5 separate regions of the Homo sapiens genome follow, and regions 1, 2, 4 and 5 are each linked to region 3. Evidence: promoter capture Hi-C in 16 types of primary human blood cells and fetal thymus (Javierre and others, 2016). All regions are on one chromosome and are shown on one strand. Each heading gives the region's core, a stretch centred on a gene start or on the middle of the fragment in contact. The rest is flanking DNA. Distances are from core to core; before and after follow the strand shown. Region 1 overlaps WDR7 (WD repeat domain 7). Region 2 overlaps WDR7 (WD repeat domain 7). Region 3 holds the start of FECH (ferrochelatase). Region 4 overlaps WDR7 (WD repeat domain 7). Region 5 overlaps WDR7 (WD repeat domain 7).

Region 1 (2,700 bases), core at 78-2,577, 840 kb before region 3:
TTTAGTATTTGGTGGTGCACTTTCCTGGTCTTTTCTCCTCCCACTGGATAAAGAGCCTTGTGATAAGAATGCAGTGCCATCTAACAGGCTAATTTGGGAGTAGGGATTAAGTTATGACTTAACAATAGGATTCATACATGCCTTATGAATGTGTTTTGGAAAATTATAGTTTAAAATATTGTTGATGCAAGTACAAATCCCCAAACTAAATGATGAACCTAATAGGAACTTGCAATTTGAAAGCAAGATAACAGCATTTGAAAGCCCACACTTACGATGCACAGAATATCAAGGCATCCCTTATGTGACACTGTCCAGTGTTCATATGCAGTAAAATATTTGTACCATTACTCTACGGTTCATAATAGTGTGACATCTAATTAGAATGCTGAAAGTCTCCAGAACAGCACGCCCCAACCTTTTTGGCACCAGGGACTGGTTTCGTGGAAGACGGTTTTTCCATGGCCTGGGGTAGATGGTTTCGGGATGAAACTGGCGTTAGAGTCTCATAAGGAACGCACACTGTAAATCCCTTGCATACACAGTTCACAATAGGGTTTTCACTCCTATGAGAAGCTAATGCCACTGCTGATATGACAGGAGGTGGAGCTCAGGTGGTAATGCTCACTTGCCCGCCGCTCAGCTCCTGCTGTAGGACCCCGTTCCTAACAAGCCATGAACCTGTGGACCAGTACCAGTTCTTGGCCTGAAGGTTGGGGACCCTTGTTCTAGAAAATTAGTCACATGCTAATTTAAGTTTATAAATAGCAAAATATAAAAATAGCACTTGTAGCATAATGAGCAAAAGTAACCTTAGTAACTCACTTTACTAAATGACCCTATGCTTAACATTGTGTCATTTGCCCTCCTACTTTGAATCCTTTTACATCCCATAAAGAAGCCCCTTGACCTCCAACAACTGCAGACCCTAAGTTGAAAATCACTGACCTATATGGATGTTGAACTTTCCTAGGACAATGGTTGGCCAGCAAGTGTGTGAGTCAGGGACAATGATTTCAAGGTTTAAACATTTTTTTCCAGTGTGAATCTTGTAAGATGATTTATATGACATGGTATTGCAGGCCCTAAAATTAACCTTGAATAGAAATATATTTGTCAGTTATCTCAGGGAGACAGTTTACTGCATTGTCCAAGTATAGGAAGTATAACTGGTACATAGTGGTTGTGACTGAAATTCTATATGATGCTGTCAGTTGAGTACAACAGGTAAAATATCCAAAGATCTGTTAATGTCTTCCACTGATCTCTCTCTTATTTTGTATTAAAATACTTATTTTTCCTAATTACATTCACACCTCAATCACAATCACACTAAGCAGCAATCAGCTCTGGTAAAAGTGATATTTTCTCAGGCAAATAGATGGGTAGAAAGGACGGGGTAGGAAAAAGGATGGGAATGGTAAAAGGGGAGCAGATTTATCAGCATAGCCCAGGATTTTAGGTTGTTACAGTGTAATGTTACTTGGTTTTTAGTCTCCTTCACTTCTATTTCAGTAAGTGTAGTACTTGCTATATGCTTGTGCCACCCTTCACCTGGCTAACTCCTACTCATCTCATGAGCATGAGTTCTGTGACCTCTGTCCCTGCAAAGGCTACCTGAATTTTTCAAGTATAATACAGCCAGATCAGACAGGGGCAGTTGGGTCTTCCTCTCTGATCCTCTGGCACTTGGATTATATTGCTATCCTAGTACTTATTCTATTGTACTAGTATAAGTAAGCAGGTAGATGTATTTGTTTCCATCTCTATTTCTCTGTATCAGAGTTTCTCAACCTCAACACTATTGTCATTTTTGGCTTGATAATTTTTTCTTGTGGAATCCTGTGCAGTATTTTTAGCACCATCCCTAGCCTCTACCCACTAGATGCTATTAGCACCCTTCCAAGTCGTCACTAGCAAAGTGTCTCCAGACATTACCAAGTGTCCGTTGGGAGTGAGGGGAGAATTACCCCTGCTCAAAACCACTGCTCTATATCAGACAAAGAGCTTCTCAGAGGACCACACCATATTGCTTCTTGTATTTCCAGTGCTCAGCACAGTGTTCATTGAATCACTAAATAACCCAGGATTTGAAGGTTCACTAATGTGGAGTGGATTCAGTCTTTCCTCTACCACCTCCCTTCTCTCTCAAATCTCTACAGAATGAATGTTGAGAGTCCCCTGATAGCTAGAATTATTCAAAACATGGAGGAAGTGGTGGGCAGATAGAGGAGGAACCTGACTTCCTCCTGTATTGTCACCATTGACTTGCTGTGTGACCTTAGGTGACTGACTGACTTATCTCTCATCTTCAACTTGGTTTTAGTTTTAAAATTGGTATAATAGGGTTGTAATGAAGTTAAATGGGATAACAGATTTGAAAACATTCATCACAATAGTTGTTCAACATACATAGTTTAATACTCTTGATTGATTGATTCATGCATTCATTCAGCACATATTGAATGCATACTCTAAGCTAGGCCCCAAGCTACAACCAGCTGGAGAGGGCATCAGTTACACCCACACCCAGTGGGCCCTGGCATTGGGGAGTTCCTACCTGATGTGGGAGAAAAGTGCGTAGTTCATTGTGTTGAGCCTTTTACTACCTAAGGTATGAACCAAGTGAGAGAGAACCCCAAGAGCCAAACTGACCTGAAGGGTTGTTGGGAAGGCTTTTCAGAAGAGAGAGGCTTGACA
Region 2 (2,700 bases), core at 5-2,504, 860 kb before region 3:
GTTACTGTTCTAGTGAGTTTTCTAGAAGGAAATGACAAATAGGCCCTAACTGTAGGGGTACTGGAAGAGGTTATTGTTATAATCAGTTTAGTGTAATTAAGCCCAATTTAGATAAAATACAGCATGTAATATTGAAATTACATGCTGAAGATTTGGGTAAACAATCAGTCAATATGACATTCAAGATAAATGCTATAGAGAAGCTGGATTTATTTTGGATTTCAACCATAATGGGAGGCATACATTGTTTTTTTCCTCCTTGCTGTTCATGCTGTAGCTAGTGATACAAAGTTCCCTGGGGAGTCAGTAAGGTACATCCTGGAGGTATTGACATTATTTATTTATTAAATTTATTTATTTATTAAATAAATAAAAAATGAAGCTAGAAAAAATCAGATTCAGCCAGGGTTTGATGTATGAAATGTATTTAAACTCTGAGGAGATACTTGATCTCTCTTGTTAGTGTTTCAGGAATGTATTTTTCCAAATGCAGCCATACCACATTAACCCTGTTTTGCATATTGGGCAATTTTCTAGTTATTGTTTTGAGTTATACTGATGTTTCTAGTGTAAAACACTTGAAGTGTCTTTCCTTTATACGTTTATGCAGCATGTTTAAACATTTTTTTCCTTCAAATGAGTACTTTGTGTTTTCAGTTTATAGTTCCCTGTGAAATCCAGTCAAAGCTAGTAATACAAAATGTAGAGAGCTGGAGTTCTAGAATCTTTTGTTCTTTTATTGTGACATTTTCTTATATGTAATAGCAATGTAATAGTGATGTAATGGCCATGGAAATTATTCTTTCACATCTCTAAATAGTTAAAAAACTACCCAAACACTAGCAACAAGATTTAGCCAGATGAACCTCTTGCTTCCCTCTTACGAAGTTATTAAAGGTGGGTCACTGACCTAGGTGGTTTCTGTGGAGCTGTTGATGTGCTTCTGGGATCAACCGTCTCGTTCTTCACATTTCATATTCCCAGTAAGTATGCAGTGCCATTCTCACAGGCCTTTGACAAGGTCAGAATCCTGTCTGTTTGGGAAACAGGCATGCTGAAAGTAATGACTGATGTTACAAAATGTTCTTCTTATCTAGCCATTACCAAGCCTAAACCACATTCTCATCTGGCTTCTTTTTATCATTCTTGCTACACAACAAAAGTGATTCCCACATCATATTTCTATTCCTTATGTATAATTATTAGATGTTCTTATACAAATGCAAACACCATTAATGCTTGACAAATATCATCAGAAATTAGTGTATGAGGACTTGTGAATTTATTTGTTCTGTGATGTTTCTTTTTATGTTCTGCACTCCATGTTTTCTGATATTTCTCTTTTTGCATGTACTTCATGAAATATGCATTTGAGTCATCTTTTTGAACTTAAGTACCTAATAAAATCTAGCAGGGAATTATGAATTAATGTATATTTGTATGTCTTTTGAAAAACATATATAAAACATGGCTAACAAAAAGCATGTGTTTCAGGGGCTCAGATTGTCATACAAGTAAAGTCTTAGTGACTGTTATTCTTCCTTAAGACTAATTTTTGAAAACGTTTTTCATGCTTTTATTTTGATACATTTAAATTGATGTTTTTCTCTTGTTACTAAAATTGCTGAAGAGAATCAGGAGGTAGTGTTGAAGTTCAGTCCTTTGTTATTAGTGGAGGGTTTTAGTAGCAAGTGTTTTCTTCACGTATTTGACCCTTTGCCAGTAGTATCTAATACAGTGGAAATTAGATCTTACATTTGTATTTCACTATATATTGCCATTACATCATCAGCTTTTCTGTACATTTTTGCTTTTCATTCTGTTACAAAACATGCTATAGGACAGGGGAAGACACAGAGAATGAATGGGTTAAGAAAAAGAGGTAATTGACTATAACCTTGGTAAAACCAAGTATAATCAGAGAGTTTCTTTTTTCTCTTTTAATGATTGACTTTATGAAATCTTACATATTTACCTACCTCTGTAGTTACCATTTTCATTGCTTCCCTTTTTGAAGGAAGGGGTTGTTAGAGTGGAGATATGACTGTGCTTACTACTCCCTCCTCTCACAACCCCTCCATGCAATTAATCACTAAGTCTTTCCCATTAGGTATCCCTCAACTACTTTTTTATTATTTCCAGTGTACCATTGTAATTTATGGCCATATTTTTCCATACCTAGGCTATCTTTATTGGGTACCCTGCCTACTCTTTCTACCTTCTAATTCATCCTTTACTCTGCCGGGAAATTAATCTTAGGAAAGAAAACACTGACAACACTTGCTTCATATTAATGTCTTAATGAATAAACCATAAACAATATTAGTTCATAAAGCCTTCAAGACAAGGTCTTCCATAGTGTGGTACTTTCCTACCTTCTGTCTTTACCTCTTACTGTTCTTTTACACAGACCAGTTGCTCTAGTCAATAATAATTGGGTCACTCCCAATTCTTCTTGCTAGTGTCATCCATATTGTTTTCGTGATTTTCACTCACTTGGAACATTGCTTTTTTCTTTCCTTTTTTTTTTTGTTTAAAACAAACAAAAGTATCTATGATATTTTAAGGAAATTTGAGTAATAAGAATGCAGTCTTGCATATTTACTTATGTAGTCACCATTTCCATTGCTCTTTATTGCTTTGTGTAGATATAGATTTTGCCTGGAGTCATTTTTCTTTTGTCTAATACTTAATTTTTCT
Region 3 (2,700 bases), core at 136-2,635:
ACTCCAAATCTACTTCTGCTAGCGTTTCTGAATCTTTCCACTTTTAACCTAGACTACAAATAATTTAAAGTTTCACATATTGTTCCACGACCTCAAATCTAGGACCTGTCAGACTTTATTTGCCACAGGAAAGGTCAGTGAAAGAAAAGATTAGTTCAATACTTCTTTCAGCCCCACGACTGGCACTGTGCTGCCTCTTCTTAAAAAACAATGCCCTTTGTCCCCCAGCGCCCTTAGTGAGCTAGCCTCATTGTACACTGGGTCCTTAGTATTTTCCTAACAAAGGCACGTCTAATGAGATATGGAGGTTCAGAGGGGATTCCCTCCACTCCAAGTAGGTGTCAGACTGACGAACGTCTTAGAAAAATATGTCCGGTCTGTGTCCAGTCACCGTTCGGATGCATTGAATAAGCATCTTATTCGTGGCAGCCTTCTGCATGAATGGCTAGACATCTTGAGGATGCCTGTGTACTACTGTGTGCCAGGCAAGGTGCTCATGTTCAAGGCAAGCCTTAAAAAAAAAATTAGGATTTCAATGTACATTTACCAAAGCTCTGGCGAGGTTAGGTGCCTTGTTCAAGGTGTCACAGTTGGAAATGCTGTCCCAGCCAGGTGTGTGAGATCCACAGTCCCATCAGCTCATCCTGTGGTCACAACCTATTCACGGTTTGCATCAGAAACGTGGGAGGCTGTTCCTGGGTCTTACAAGTTCCCCAGATATCTCTAGAAAACGCTAGCCCAGGCTGCCCCACGGGGGGTCCCGCTGCTAAGGAGAAGTGGGCACAGAGGGACCAAGGACCATGGGCTTTCCTCAGCAGGGAGGGAACTGCAGGGCAGATGTCCATGGTGGTGATGATGAAGATGCCTTCCTTACTATCCTCTATGGCAGGCCCATAACATACCTTCCCTCGCGTAATCTTCTCAACAGCCTGGTTATTGCAGGTGACAATAACCAAGGCTCTGGGAAATTCCAGCCACTGCTCCAAGCCACCCAGCCGACCGATGGGACTTGAACCTGCGCCTCCTGGATCCGGGCGCCCTCCCCGCGGCCTCCCGAGCCCTGAGTGCTGCCCTCAGCCCTCCCTTCTCCGCGACGCCCCTCGCCCGGTTGCTCGCAGCACCCCCAAGGCCGCTCCCCGAATCCCCCGGGCGCGAGGGCCCGGGCGCCAGCTGCCCGCTCTGCCCACGCCTTCTCAGGGATCCTGGCCCTGGCGGCCGCCGCGACAGACCCACTTACGCGGATCGCGGAGCAGGACGCCCGCGGCGCGCAGGGCCGCAGCCATGTTTGCGCCGAGTGAACGCATTGCCTGGGCAGCCTCGGCCCGAGTCCGGGCTCCTCCCGCGGCGGCGCGCCCAGGTGTCCGCCCAGCAGTGGCCGAGCCGGGTAGCGATCCCCACGCGCGTCCCCAGCCCCCTGACCTCGCGCCCTCCCGGCGCGCCCGCTCATTCGCTGCCGGGCCGGGGCGGGCGAGGCCAGGCAGAGACACGCCCCTCGCGGAGAGCCCGCCCCAGCTGGGCGCCGCTCCCTGCGTGAAAATGGGCCCGGGGGCTGAGCTAGAAGCCCGCTCCCCACCACCATCGCAGGTCACTGCAAAACCTGCTGGACTCCTAGTTGCGTGCCCTGTTTGCATCTGCCAAACTAGCGAAGTCAGGATCCTCAGCCATGACTCAGCAAATAACTTTTTTCGACGTTTCCATTACTATTATTTAGATATAAGGATGCTTTTGCCTCAGTTCTCCAGTTTGCCTGCCTAGTCACAACACAAGTGTGCAGATCCTGTTTTGTTTTGCTTTATTTTCAGAATAGAAAAAGGGATTATTCAGTTTCTCTGCACCCTCTCTGTGTAGCAGAATTTGACAGGTGAAACTCACTGAAGAGCATTAGGAAAAGTGAAGGCCAGCCTGGCAAGTGCATTTCTTGGAGGGACGGTATGATGAGGTTTGTCTGTATCATATCCGCGCACCTTCCCAGTTTAGCCGCCCGTCCCGCCCCCAAGGTCGCACACTGAGATCACTGGGAGGAACAGGCGCCCATTTCATTCCTACACCTCCGTCAGCCCACCCTGCCTATATATGTTCAGTGCATTGTGGAGTAGGAAACCAGCCCTTGGTACAGAAAGGTCTCAGGCATCGGTATTCATTGAACAAATATTGAGCACCTACTATGTGCACTGGGAAAACAGTAGTGAAAAGAGTAGACGGGGGCTTACATGGGGTTAGGGGAGACACAGAAAATAATCACAACATGTAATACTTTGAATGATGGAGCCCTTCCACGGCCTCCCCTCTTCTTTTTCCCTCTCAGGACAAAAGAAGAATGAAGCAAGGTAAAAGAGATGGGGTAGGGTGGGGGAAGGGACTAATGCAATTTGAAGCAGGTGGGTCAGAGTCTCACACATTCGAGCAAAGGCCTTATACACATTTGAGCAAAGGGGGCAAGCCATATGGAACATTCAGGGAAGATGGAGTCTAGATTCAGCTGAAACCCAGTTTTCTGTAGCTTAAATATGTGCTACTGATGGAATTAGTTTATTTCTTATTAAAGTTGGTCCTCCTGATGGTTATAAGCCCAATGCAAAATGTCAAATTAAATGGATAGCCTTTCATATTACCTACATGATCTTCATATCCAAGCGGATGTCCTGAGAAAAGCACAGTAAAACCTGCTCCAGGTATCAACCCACCTTCCTTATATGTGTG
Region 4 (2,700 bases), core at 173-2,672, 800 kb before region 3:
AAGAGTTAATAGGCCGGGTGATGTGGGTCATGCCTGTAATCCCAACGCTTTGGGAGGCCCAGGTGGGTGAGACCAGCCTGGGCAACATGGTGAAACCCTGTCTCTACTAAAAATACAAAAAAAAATTAGCCGGTCGTGGTGGCATACGCCTGTAGTCCTAGCTACTTGGGAGGCTGAGGCCCAAGTATTACTGGAGCCCGGGAGGTGGAAGTTGCAGTGAGCCGAGATCACGCCATGGCACTCCAGCCTGGTCAACAGGGCAACACTTGGTCTCAGAAAAAGTTAATAAATTGGTACAGCACTTAATAATTGACTAGCTTTTTTGACTTCATGCCTGTGGCATTTTTGCCAAAATAACACTAAATTAAAACTGCAAAATAAAATTTGTATGCTACATTGAAAGAAAAATATATAATTTTGAAAAATGATTTCCTCTATAAAACTAAAATAAGTTATGCCTTTATACAGGAATATTTATTTGTCAAAAACATTGTTTAAGCATGTCTTAGGTATACGTGAATCATGTTAACTTATACGTATTTGTTTGTATAAATAGTATCTACTTAGCATATATAATATAAAGAAATTAAATAGATAAGGTTAACTTCAAGCTAAAAAAACAATAGCTCTCACAGTGGCTTAACAATAATGTTAATATAGAAATTTTAAAAGTAAAATGCTACATTAAAGTTCAAAAATGCTTTGGAAAATGCAGTTTTAAAGTTCAAGAATGCTTTGGAAAATGCAGTGATTAAATTGTTGAAACCTAATTCTTTCCATTAGTGTTAAAATAGTTTTCAGTGAAATCATTAATTAAAATATCTTTGATGATTTGCTAGCATCTGATTTTTAAGTAGTTAACTCATTCGGTTAATAGTGTTTTTCATGTAAATAAATATGGTTTTTATGTTTTCTAGCCTTATTTCATTATAAATTTTCTAGTTTATGAATATTCACCTCCTCAACTAATCTGCTTTCTGCTTTTACATTTGGGTCTGTGGTCTTAGGTGAGAGAAGCCGCGCAGGCCCTGCTTCTGGCGGAACTGAGAAGAATTGAGCAGGCAGGCAGGAAGGAAGCCATTGATGCCTGGGCTCCTTACTTACCTCAGTACATAGACCACGTCATATCACGTAAGAGTTCTCATGCTTCTCTACAAAGCTTTGCAGGAATATGTAGAAAAGGTACCTGTACTCACAAATATATATGCTACTACCCATCAACAAAAATGAGTCACTGACCTTAAAGTGAAAAGAACAGATCCTCAAATTCACTTTATTATTTTCTGAATCTCTGTAGTTTGGAACTTGCTTTAAAAAACAAAAGGCAAAGGCTGTCTATATCAAAATATTCATTAATGAACTGACTTTTATAAATGAATTCCCCATCAAACATCCTACTCTAGTACTAACATGTGCCTCCGCCCATTGCATTATTATGCTTATGGATGCCAGCTTGTTCGATATGGATCTGATGATATGCAAGTGCAGATACAAGGCAAACTCTCTTGCTAGTTAAAGTTGGGATTGTGAATCCTTAGAAAAACAAAGATCTGATAGAGTTAGACTCAGGCAATATTTACAAAGAGAAAATTGGGAAGGATTTTGATGGATAAATCTTTCAAAAGAGTATAATTTGAAAGGATTAGAAAAATTGTTGAAATTTTTTGAATATTCTTTTGCAAAATAAAAGCTTTATAATTATGTTGCTACATTGAATGTGCATTGGAAAAGAGTTGTATTTTGCTATCATAATGAGCATACTCATTCCCAGTTCATCATTTGGTTGGTTTTGTATTTTTGTTTGGTTTGTTTTATATTTTTCTAAAAACAGTTTAGTTACTAAATAATTTTTTTAAGGTCCCTCAGTTACTAAGTGACTAAATTATAATCAATATAATTGAGTCAAATAAAATTTTAATTTTGCTCTTAATTATATTGATTAAAAAATTTTACCCTAAATTATATTGAATTAAAATTAAAATTTTACCCTAAATTATATTCATTGTAAGATAAATTTTCAGTTTTGCAAGATAAAGTGTGAGTGAAACTTTAAAAAAAACTTTTTATTATGAAAATTTGGCCTGGGTTTTAGGTGGACTCATTTTAAATGACCTTTTGCCAATACCAGTTATTCTTTGTAATGAAATACTCATTACACATGTCAAGATGGACAGTACATTATTATACAAGAAGGAAAATGAAAACAAAATTCAGAAAGGTTTATAACTTTTATATCTGGTTTAAACTCTACCAGATCTTTGCCAGTGGTGACTCTAGTGGATGTTTAATCAAGCATGTGACCTTGGGCACTTTTCTTAAGCTTTCTTAGTCTCAGTTTTATCGCAGATGAAATAAAGATGATAATAGGACTTTATAGGGTTATTATGTGTGTGGCATGAGTTAATCTTTGTTAAGTGCGTAGAACAATTCCTAGCCCATAGTAAGCATAATACTTTTGTTAAATACTTTATAATCTATAAAAATGCAAATATTTATTTCACTTATAGCCGAAGTATCACACATTAACAGCTCCAGTGAAAATTCTTAATTGTTTGAGCAATAAAATATTTACTTAGTGAATATAGGTTATCATTTGCTTTCTGGAAATTTTTCTATTTTAATAAAGCAAATTAAGTTAAAAAAAAAAACAAGGCATCTAGACATATAGACTCTAAGTTATTAGGCTTAAGATTGTTTTAA
Region 5 (2,700 bases), core at 131-2,630, 820 kb before region 3:
CTATGACCTCATATATGTATCATTTTATGTGTGTTGAGAACACTTAAAATTACTCCCTCAGCAATTTTTAAGTATATAATACATTGTTACTAACTATAGTCTCCATGTTATACAATGTGAATCCTTTTGAATTTATTGAGACTTGTTTTATGGCCCAAAATATAGTCTGTCTTGGTAAATATACTGTGTGTACTTCAGAAGAATGTGTATTCTGCTGTTGTTGGGTGGAATATTTTATAACTGTCAGTCAGGTCAAGTTGCCCGTGTTCAAGTTTAGTATATACTTGCTGATTTTTCTGCCTGCTTGCCTTTATCAATTAAATAAGAGTATTGAATCTGCAGCTATAATTATGGGTTTGTTTATTCCTTCTTGCATTTCTATCCCAGTTTTTGCTTCATGTATTTTGAAGCTCTCTTATTAGGTGCATAAACCTTTGGAATTTTTATTTCTTCTTGATTATTTGACCCTCGTCATTATGAAATGACCTTCTTTATCCTTGGTAATGTCCTTTGCTTTGAAATTTACTTTGTTTATAATAATACAGTAATTTCAGCATTTTTGGCTACTGTTAACATAGTATAATCTTTTCTCATCCTTTTACTTTTTACCTATTTGGCTCTTTATATTTAAGATGTGTTTCTTGTGGGCAGCATATAGTGGGTCTTATTTTTTAATCCAATCTGACCTGCTTTTTACTTGAGATGCATAAGCCGTTTACATTTAATGTGATTGTTGATATGGTTAGGTTTGAATCTGTTATCCTACTACCTTATTTTTCTCTTCGTTGCATTTATTTTTTGTTCTTTTTCTTTTTCTGCTGTCTTTTAGACTAAAAAGATTTTTTTTATGATTCCATTTGATCTCCTTTATGGCTTTATAAGCTAATTTTTATTATTTTAGTAGTTTTTTTAGAGTCTGTAGTCTATGTCTTTCCGTTATCACAGTGTACATTCAAGTGCTATTATACTATTTAACATTTAATATAAATGTTAAACCTTATAATATTATATTAGCATTTCTCATCTCCTGGTCTTTATGCTACTGTTGTCCTGCATTTTACTTTTATATATGTTATAAACCTCACAAATTATTCTTGTGATTTGTGTTTAACAGTAATTATATTTTAAAGAGACTGAAATAAGAAAAAATACATATTTACCCACGTAGTTACCTTTTTTGGTATTCTACATTCCTTTGTGTAGATCAAGACTTCTATCTGGTAAAATTCTTCTAACAAAAGGACTTACTTTAAGCTTTCTTTTTATGTATGTATATATGTATGTATGTATGTATCTATCTATCTATTTATTTATTTATTTAAGTTCTGGGATCCATGTGCTGAACGTGCAGGTTTGCTACATGGATACACATGTGCCATGTTGTTTTGCTGTACCTATCAAGCTGTCATCTAGGTTTTAAGCCCTGCATGCTAATCTTTCTTTTAGTGAGCGTCTGCTCTTCAAGTTTTTGTACATTTGAAAACATCTTTGTTTGTCTTTGTTTTTGAAAGCTTTTTTTTTTTTCTGGTATAGAATTCCAGGTTGACTTTTTATATCTTTTAATGCTTTGAAGATGATATTCTGTTGTCTTCTTGTTTGCATTAGTTCTAACAAGATCTGATAGCATTCTTATCTTTGTTCCTCTGACTGTAACATTACTTTATTAATCTTGTTGCTTTTAAGATTTTCCGTTTATCACTGGTTTTGAGCAGTTTGATTGTGTGGTTCTTCAGTGTAGTGTTCTTCATGTTTCTTGTGGTTGGGGTTCATTGAGTTTATTAATTTTGAAAAATTTTCAATAATTATTTCTTCAAATATTCATTCTGCCCTTTCCTCCCTCCTCTCTCTAAGGGACTGAAATTACATGTACGTTAGGCTGATTGAAGTTGTTTCACCTATCACGGTGCTCTTTTATTTCGGGATTATTTTTCCTCTCTGTGTTTTGATTGAGATAGTTTCCATTGCAATGTCTTCAAGTTTATTAGTCTTTTCTCAGCAATGTGTAATATGCCATTGGTCCCATCCAGTGCACTTTAAAAATTTATTTTTATTTTTTTTTATAGAGACAGTGTCTCGCTATGTTGCCTAGGTTGGTCTTGAACCCCCAGGCTGCAGCAATTTTCCCTGTTTGGCCCCCTCAAAGTGCTGGGATTGCAGGCATGAGTGACCATGCCCAGCTGTCATCCAATTCACTTTTAATCTCAGACATTGTTATATGTGTCCCCAGAATTTTGATTTGGGTCTTAAAATTTTTTTTCCTTGTCTCTACCTAACTGCTTTGAATACATGGATTGCAGTTATAATAAATGTTTTAACACCCTTCACTGATAATTTTGATAGCTCTGTCAGTTCTGGGTTGGTTTAAATTAATTATTCTCCTCCTTGTGGACTGTGCTTTCCTGCCTCTTTGCGTGTTTGATAATCTTAGAATAGATGGGAGATGTTTGAATTTTGCCTGTTTGGGTGCTGGACACTTTTGTGTTCTTAAAAATCTTGAGCTTTGTTGTGGGATGCAGTTATGTCATGTGGAAACAGTTTCTTTTTTTTCCTGGTCTTGCTTTTATGACTTGTTAGGTGGATTTGGAGCAGTGCTCTAAGATGAATTACTCCCTATTACTGAGGCCAAACCTTCCAGAATATCCAATGCCCTGTGAATTATGAGGTTTTCCATTTAGGCTGTTGGGAGCAGGCACTGTTTCT

Evidence for each region. Contacts are between HindIII fragments. The CHiCAGO score rates a contact against its expected background, and 5 or more counts as called.
Region 1: a fragment that was not itself captured here is called in contact with the fragment with the promoter of FECH in region 3 in 12 of 17 cell types (total CD4 T cells, megakaryocytes, naive CD4 T cells and 9 more); the score reaches 11.5 in total CD4 T cells.
Region 2: a contact is called between a fragment that was not itself captured here and the fragment with the promoter of FECH in region 3, in 2 of 17 cell types (megakaryocytes and naive CD8 T cells). The highest score is 7.8, in megakaryocytes.
Region 4: a fragment that was not itself captured here is called in contact with the fragment with the promoter of FECH in region 3 in 2 of 17 cell types (megakaryocytes and naive CD4 T cells); the score reaches 5.5 in megakaryocytes.
Region 5: a contact is called between a fragment that was not itself captured here and the fragment with the promoter of FECH in region 3, in 8 of 17 cell types (naive CD4 T cells, fetal thymus, naive CD8 T cells and 5 more). The highest score is 9.2, in naive CD4 T cells.

What each region holds. Positions count from the first base shown.
Region 1 is chr18:56,744,984-56,747,683 of GRCh38, forward strand. All of the region lies in intron 14 of WDR7 (WD repeat domain 7), which reads left to right. Among named protein-coding and RNA genes, the nearest start is that of WDR7, 95 kb to the left of the region's middle. The HindIII fragment of the contact is 6,804 bases long and covers 1-2,700 here.
Region 2 is chr18:56,720,687-56,723,386 of GRCh38, forward strand. All of the region lies in intron 13 of WDR7 (WD repeat domain 7), which reads left to right. Among named protein-coding and RNA genes, the nearest start is that of WDR7, 71 kb to the left of the region's middle. The HindIII fragment of the contact is 3,970 bases long and covers 1-2,700 here.
Region 3 is chr18:57,585,317-57,588,016 of GRCh38, forward strand. FECH (ferrochelatase) reads right to left here and starts at 1,386. Exons shown (of 11, transcript NM_000140.5): 1 at 1,238-1,386. The coding sequence starts at 1,304. RefSeq lists silencers at 1,078-1,127, 1,138-1,197, 1,208-1,567. The HindIII fragment of the contact is 11,690 bases long and covers 1-2,700 here.
Region 4 is chr18:56,780,526-56,783,225 of GRCh38, forward strand. It overlaps WDR7 (WD repeat domain 7), which reads left to right. Exons shown (of 28, transcript NM_015285.3): 19 at 1,008-1,131. Among named protein-coding and RNA genes, the nearest start is that of WDR7, 130 kb to the left of the region's middle. The HindIII fragment of the contact is 531 bases long and covers 1,158-1,688 here.
Region 5 is chr18:56,764,512-56,767,211 of GRCh38, forward strand. All of the region lies in intron 16 of WDR7 (WD repeat domain 7), which reads left to right. Among named protein-coding and RNA genes, the nearest start is that of WDR7, 110 kb to the left of the region's middle. The HindIII fragment of the contact is 257 bases long and covers 1,253-1,509 here.